Regions from separate parts of the Homo sapiens genome. Here region 2 is linked to region 1. Evidence: promoter capture Hi-C in human tissues and cell types (Jung and others, 2019). All regions are on one chromosome and are shown on one strand. Each heading gives the region's core, a stretch centred on a gene start or on the middle of the fragment in contact. The rest is flanking DNA. Distances are from core to core; before and after follow the strand shown.

The links. Contacts are between HindIII fragments. The study calls those that stand out against the background at their distance.
Region 2: a contact is called between a fragment that was not itself captured here and the fragment with the promoter of WNT10B in region 1, in 4 of the 25 tissues and cell types used here (H1 embryonic stem cells, bladder, lymphoblastoid cells and 1 more).

What each region holds. Positions count from the first base shown.
Region 1 is chr12:48,969,770-48,974,206 of GRCh38, forward strand. WNT10B (Wnt family member 10B) reads right to left here and starts at 1,966. Exons shown (of 5, transcript NM_003394.4): 1 at 1,686-1,966; 2 at 687-800; 3 at 320-582. The coding sequence starts at 760. RefSeq lists silencers at 190-269, 1,737-2,031. The HindIII fragment of the contact is 13,431 bases long and covers 1-4,437 here.
Region 2 is chr12:49,040,024-49,042,523 of GRCh38, forward strand. KMT2D (lysine methyltransferase 2D) reads right to left here. Exons shown (of 55, transcript NM_003482.4): 29 at 2,066-2,307; 30 at 1,894-1,967; 31 at 1,632-1,682; 32 at 1-1,512. Among named protein-coding and RNA genes, the nearest start is that of KMT2D, 20 kb to the right of the region's middle. The HindIII fragment of the contact is 6,740 bases long and covers 1-2,500 here.

The sequences.
Region 1 (4,437 bases), core at 716-3,215:
TTGAAGCTTCCAGGACTGGGGGCATCTCTTGTTCACAGGTGCAACCCAGATTAAGCTGAGCGGAGGCAGGAAAGGGGGGCCCTAGGGTAGGAGAGCAGGGACCCAGCTGCCTCGCTGGCAGCACGCAGGTGGAAGTTAGGCGCGCAGGGGCCCAGACGAGTGGCCAGACCTGGCTCAGAGCGGCTCCGGGGGGGGCGGGGAATTCCAGGAGAGGCCCCTCCCGGAGCCGCGAAACCATCCCTTCCCGCCTCCGCGCGCCTCGCCCTGCCGCCCACCCCCTAGCCTCCGCGGCAGCGCCGACCCGCCCAGCCAGGCTCACCGCGCTTGAGGATGGCGCTGTGGTGCGGCAGGCGGCCGCCGCCCTCAAGCGCGGAGCAGTTCCAGCGCTGGTCGCGCAGCTGGTGCTGACACTCGTGGACCGCGATGTGCAGACCCTGAAGCGCGGACGCCGTCACGTCGGGGTTGCGCAGGCACAGGCCTAGCTGCCGCTTGCTCAGGCCGGACAGCGTCAAGCACACGGTGTTGGCCGTCAGCGGCGGCTCGCCAGGCAACTTCAGGCCCAGAATCTCATTGCTTAGAGCCCTGGGAACCAAGAAGGCGTCTGGGGTCTGCGGTCCAGACCCCTCCAACTCTCCCCACCCCGGGTCGGTGTTTCTATGGCCTGGGAGACAAGGGGAACTGCTCACCGACTGCACAACGCCAGGAACAGGAGACCCGCGAGGCCCGAGGGCGGAGGCCGCGGCCGGGGCTCCTCCAGCATGTCGAAGCCCGGAGGCTCCGGTGGGCAGATCGATCAGGACCTGCGGGACGGGAGACTTGATGCGGGTTCAGGAATAGGGCGGCTCGCTTGGGGAACCAAGTGACGCCCTTCTTCGGGCTCCTAACCCACCGGTGCCACCCTACTGACCCTTCTCATTCCTCCTCAAACAAAACAAGAAGAAACACCCCTTGATTCCCAGAGTCCCTGAGGCTTGGAGGTCTTAAAGAAGAAGAGTCAAGGCGTTGTCCCAGCTCAGGACTCAAGCGAGCACCCCTGGAACCTTGCCCAATCAGACACAACGCCCGGCACACAGACACACACTCACTTGCAAACTCAGACACACAGACTCACAAACACTTGCTCCACAACCTCGCCTACTGCTCCCTTTTCCAGGGCCCCACGACTAGCTTCCCCGCCCTCACAGGGCTAGGGAGAGGGATAGGGAGGAGGTTCCCCACCACCTAAGGGGGTGTCACCTCCAGGTGTCATCAAGGGCAAGTAGGCTCCATGAGAAAGGTCTAAGAATGAGTTCCCCACTCACACTGCCCCCTCCCTGAGCAGCAAGGAAAGAGGAGAGGCTCCAGGTGCAGGAAAGATGGGGAGGAGAGCCTGGCTCCCTCCTAAAAGGGACCGTGGCACAGACTGAGTCCTCTTCCCTATCCCCCACCTTGCCTAACTACAAGCTCCCCTCCTCCATAGTCGCCCGTCTGGTCCTCACCCCTTGGCTCTCACATTCATTGCATTCTAAATCTGGGGGCACTCCTTTATTCTCTGTGTCTTTATCTCTAGCAATATCTCTGGCTCTCTATGCGTCTCTGTGCTTCTGTGGGTGGATGCGTGTCTGTCTGTCTGTCTGACTACACACGTGCCTGTCTCTTCCTCGTGTGCACGTCCCTGCCCTCCCTGCTTTCCCAGGTCTAATTACCTCCAGTGGTTTGGGTGCGGGGTCCGAGACAGGCACGGTTGGGTTGCCTGGGCTTCACTAGTGCTGCTTAAACCGTGGGGAGACTGCGCTGGGTTCTGTCCCCTTGTCAGAGCCGCATTCTTCCAGGGCCGGGCCACTCCTCTTCACCGCTTCCCCAGCGCCGCCGCGGCCGCCGGGAGGAAGGGAGGGAGGAAGGGAGGGAGTGATCGAGAGAGCTAGCAAGCCGGCGAGCAAAGGACTGGGGGCTCTGGCTTTGCTCTCACCGAGCTCAGGGTGGCTCTGCCGGGCTGACGGAGCTGCAGCCCCTCCCCGAGCCTGGGGCTTCCCCACCCTACCCTCCACTCCCAGCCTTGACCAGGCGAATGCAGCCTCCCCCTCCTCCCAGCGCGCGCGCGCGCGCGCGCGCGCGCACACACACACACACACACACACACACACACACACACTCTCTCTCTCTCACACACCCTCTCCCCCGACGCCTGGGTTCAGGCTTGGCCCCACTGAAGAAGGAGGTGGCCAGAGTTCCTCTCACCTGATCTGGGGTCGCCAAGGCTGCAGGGAGGGTGTAGTAACCTTCCTAGGGAGCCAGAATGGGGCCCAGATGGCCACATCTTTCATCACTCCTCTTTGCGTCAGTTTCTCCACCAAGATCAGGGTGGCTGGAAGGTGCCTTTGACAAGATGAGGATGGAGCCAGACAGTCTTTGGGCTTCTCGGTGTGGGACAGTCACATGTGGCACCCACAGCCTGAGCGCACCCGGGGTACTCAGAGCGGGCAGGAGAAGCACACGTCTGGGCAGCTTGGTTCCCACCCTCCTCCAAGCCCTGCGCCTGCCCCTTTGGAGGGGACAGCTTTGGCCTCAGAGTTTGGCCCTAGCAGAGGTTCAAGTAGCACCAAAGATTGTCAGCCTGCCCCGATGCTTCCTTGCCTGGCAGGGATGCTTGCCAACAGAGGTATCCTACCCTTCTCGGGATTCCCCCGGTCTGCACTTTGGGTGGCCTGGATTCCTGCTCCAAGCTGTAGACTTGCTTCTTATGGGATGAGGAGGGCCTTGGGATCCAAAATTGAGCCAAGCCCAAGGGCAGCCGGGAAAGAGCCTGGTCTTGGGGTGCACAGGCAAAGGCAAACCGCCTTAGGGAGACCCAGTGGCAGCGAACGGGTTAGGCGCCACCGTGCTCCCGCCTGACTCACCCTCGAAGCTCTAACCACTGTGGGCTATTTTTGCCAGAGAGGGGCCCCAGGCTTTCCAGCCGCCCCCCGCCCCTGCCAGACCGCAGCCCAAGGCACGGCTGGCCCCACGCGCCCCAGGCACATTGACTCAGACTGCCCCCAAGCAAGCAGAGGAACAGGGATGATACCCACAACCACAGTCACCTCTTCCTTGGTGGTGGCGTTGCAGCTCTGCTGGGCAGCCAGCCTCCAGTCTGTGCTGCTGGAGGTCCTGCCCGTGCTGCAGGGGTCACTGTTGGATAGCGGGCACAGCAGTCTGAGACAGGAGATCGAGCAAACTTACATCTGTTGGGATATTTACAGATCACCTTTACGTGCCAGGCTGTGAGCAGTCTGGGGAGGTGAAAGTGCCATGGTCCCTGACACTGGACAGCCTGGACCAGACTGCTTTTCTCTGATTCCCTACCTCTGGGATGGGGAAGTGGGAGCACTAGAGTTCCTGACCCTCCTTCCCATTTAGAGGACAAGAGCCAAACCATGTGTGGTTTTGGAGGTCACCAGAATCTGCAAGCCCCATCTCATAGTTTTCATCCTTACACCTGGATTCATGATCCCCACCAGTGTCCTTATCCTTTTTCTTGCAGTCACCCTGGGATTCCTGCCAGGTCCTTGGAAGAGGGGAATGAGGTTGCCTAAGCCTCTCTTCTCCATGGGGACCTCATGGACATTTGTATTTCTCCATGTGTCTCTGGGTCCCCCTTAGGTTTGGGATTATTTTTTGCCTTCTGATTCTACCCTTGTCAGGCTCCAGCATACAGCCAGGTGCCAAGAAGGGGCGAGGGGCAGAACTACTACAATAGGTTTCAACTTCCTGGTGACCCTAGGTCTCCCCAAGCAGGACTGTTCCAAATCCAAGGACCCAGAGTCCTGCTCCTTCTCTCTACTGAAGCCCAACTCTGGGACAAGAGGCCACAGGCCGGCAGACTGGGTGGCCTGAGCTGGCCCGCAGTGCCCTCAGCCCGACCGGCTGGCCTGAGCACTGACCCGCAGGCGGCTAGAGGGCGGTGGGACAGGCGGGGCCTGGAGAGGGCTGTGGGTGCACACCCATTGCCTAATACCCCAAGCACGCGGCCAGCTCCAAGAAAGGGGAGGGACGGGAACCAGAGAGACCTTGACGTGGGTCAGGGCCAATGACAGGAGGGGGAAAGTGGGGGGCTTTCATCACTGCAGGGAGGGACTAGGAGCAAGCTGGTTCCCCTTCCCCTCAATGAGAAGAGTGGAGGGCTGCCCTTCCCATCCTAGGGATGGAGGGTGTAACGAGAGCAATGTGGGAAGAACACTGGGGCCCTGGAGGGCGGGGGTCAAAGAAAAGAGTGGGGGCCCCTGGAGATTGGGGGATGTCGAGCAACTGAGGCGGTGGCTAAAGCCTCAGAAGCCTCCTCCTCCTCCTCCCCCCATGTTTGCCTTGGCCCGGGGTCCCGGGTGACTCATCTGTTGCTGAGCCGCTGATAGGGGAGGCCAGACCCGGGGAACCCAAATTATAGGCCCAGGAGGGATGGATGCGCCCGTGGCGGTGAGCTCA
Region 2 (2,500 bases), core at 1-2,500, 70 kb after region 1:
TACTGTGTAGTTTGTGCTTTGAGGCTTGCCCAAGGTGGGGCCGGGCCCAAAATGGCTGTTGATCCCATGGGGTGGCGGGAGACCAGGCTGAGGGACAGGGGGCTTTAGGGAAGGCTCCCCTACTGCCTGAGGGAAAGTGAAACGCATGGGAGAGGGGGTGCCCACAAATGCACCCGTCCCAGGGGACCGGACAAAATTGGGGGGCTGCCCACTTGGGACCTTGGCATGGAGCTCACCTGCTGGCCCCGCGGGCAGGGCTGCTGGGAACCCCCCAGCCCCCAGCGAAGTGTGGGCTAGAGACCCAGCCTTAAAGGCAACTTCAGGGGGCTGGGGTCGGGGTGGCTTATGCAATGGGGCAAATGGGTCACGGGACTGAGGGCGTGAGGGTGGGCGAGAATAAGGGTCAGGGGACTGGAAGCGAGGGGTAACGGGTGATGGGCAAAAAGCTTCAGCAGACAGAGGCCGGGGTGTCAGTGGAGACTGGGAGCTGGACTGGGACTGAGGACTGGCAGGCACTCGGGAGAAAGGGTCGGAGGGCAGTGAGCGAGGGGGCAGAGCACAGCAGCTCTCAGGGGGCGGAGGTTGGGGCCGAGGAGTCAATGGGGGCTGAGCATATGGGTCAGTGTAGGAGCCAGGGCGAAAGATGTCTGGGTGACTTGGAGGAGAAGGTGCCAAAGCCTGGGCAGGGGGTGGCTCCTGGGGCCTTAGGCCCAAGCCCGGGCTCTGGGGCTCTACCTGAGATGCCCGAGGGGTCAGGGGGGCTTTGAAGACATCAGGTGTCTTTAACTCCAGGCCACCCAGGTGGGTGCCTGAGGAGGGTGAGTCAACAAAGCCCAGGTTTGGGGGCCCATAGCTAGGAGAGGATGCCCCAAGCTCTTCCTTCTTCACCTCTAGGGCCTTCCGGGACTCCCCAAAAGGTGGGGGCGAGAGCAGGGGCTCGGAAGCTTTGCCTCCCCCTACCCCAGGGCTCTCAGGCACAGCCAAGTTATCCAGCGAGGGGCAGCGGGGTTTGAGGAATGGGTCAGGTGTGGAGGGCTGGTGTCTGGGGGTGCCAGGTGGGGTAGTGTGGAATTCCCCTGGCTGGCCAGCCCCAGGACGAGATGAGGCGCCCAGCATCGGGGGCTGCGCAGGGGCCCCCGTAGGACTAGGATAGGGGGGATAGGTGGGCGGTGCCGTGGGGAAGCGGGGCTCCAGGGGATAGGCAGGGGCCAGTCCAAAGGGGTCCTGCGAAGGCACTTGGGCGGGCACCTGGGGTGGGAGCTTGAGGAAGAGCTCACCAGGCGAGTCAGGGCCAGGCACCGAGCCCGCCGGCGGCTTCAGGAACCCGTCCGCAGAGGTAGACAAGCCGGCGGGGGTAGTGGGGCTGCCAATGAAAATGGTGGGGGCAGCAGCGGGGGGCGGGCTGCCCAGTGCCCCTGGCTGCGGGGGAATGCGGAGATGTAGGGCCGGTCGGTCAGTCTTACGGGCTATGTCGCCCACCTTGGTCTGCTTGTTGATCTGGCTCTCAGCCTGCTACAGGGGGAGACCAGGCATAGGGCAGTCAGGCTGCTGCAGGCAGGCCCCATGGCCCTCCACCCTCAAGAGAGGCCACCCACTAGAGGACTGCTACACCCCAGCCCAGCCCCACTCACCTTCTGCACCTTGTTGATGCGGTGAGCTGCCCGGTTATCTTTGGCCTTTTGCTGAGGGATATGGGACACAGCCTTAGGGCCTAGTGCTTGGTCTCATGCCCCGCCCCCATACTGTAGTGTTTTCACACTCCCTACCCAGAAGCAGATCCCTTCTGGCCCAGCTGCTTTAGGAGTGGGGAGCGGAAAGAACTGAGGTAAATTACCCAAAGATCCCTCCCTCCCTCTCAGTTCCCACGCTAATCCATGCTCCTTTCTGCCTCACCAGGTAGGGGGCTTTGTCAGCTGCTGGAACCTTTCTCCAGAGCTTCATGATTTGTTTGCAACGGCTTGACCAGTCTGGAGGGCAGAGAGAGTGAGTCAGAGAAGACTTGGCAGGCGACTCCTCCACCTGCCATGTTGCCAGGCTGTCTCCCTTGCCCTCATCCCACAGGTACCTGGGTAGTCTTGCTTGAGATTAGGAAAATTAATGTTGGCATAGAGCACAGGTGAGATGGTGGACAGCTGGCCCAACTCCTCATCCTTCTCCCAGCGCTGAAGACTCCGCTGGTTATAGGAGAGTCCGTCGCCCTCACCCTCCGTGGTGGGGGTTGTGGGGGTGGAGGGCGTGGTGCCACCTGAGCCCGTCCAGGGGCTGTCGGGCTCACCGGGTTCCGGGCTAAAGAAGCCCCCGCGCTCCCTGGGGCGCAGGGGCAGAGAGTCACAGGGCGCAGGGATGCCAAGTCCCACCCCAGACAAACTGCCTAGAGCCCCAGGCCACTGCCCTGCCCCAAAAGAGGAGGGTCACTAACAAGGGAATGGGGAGGAGCAGGGGAAGTGCTGCAGGAGTCCGAGGGAGGCAAAGCATGAACTCAGATGGAGGGAAAGGACAA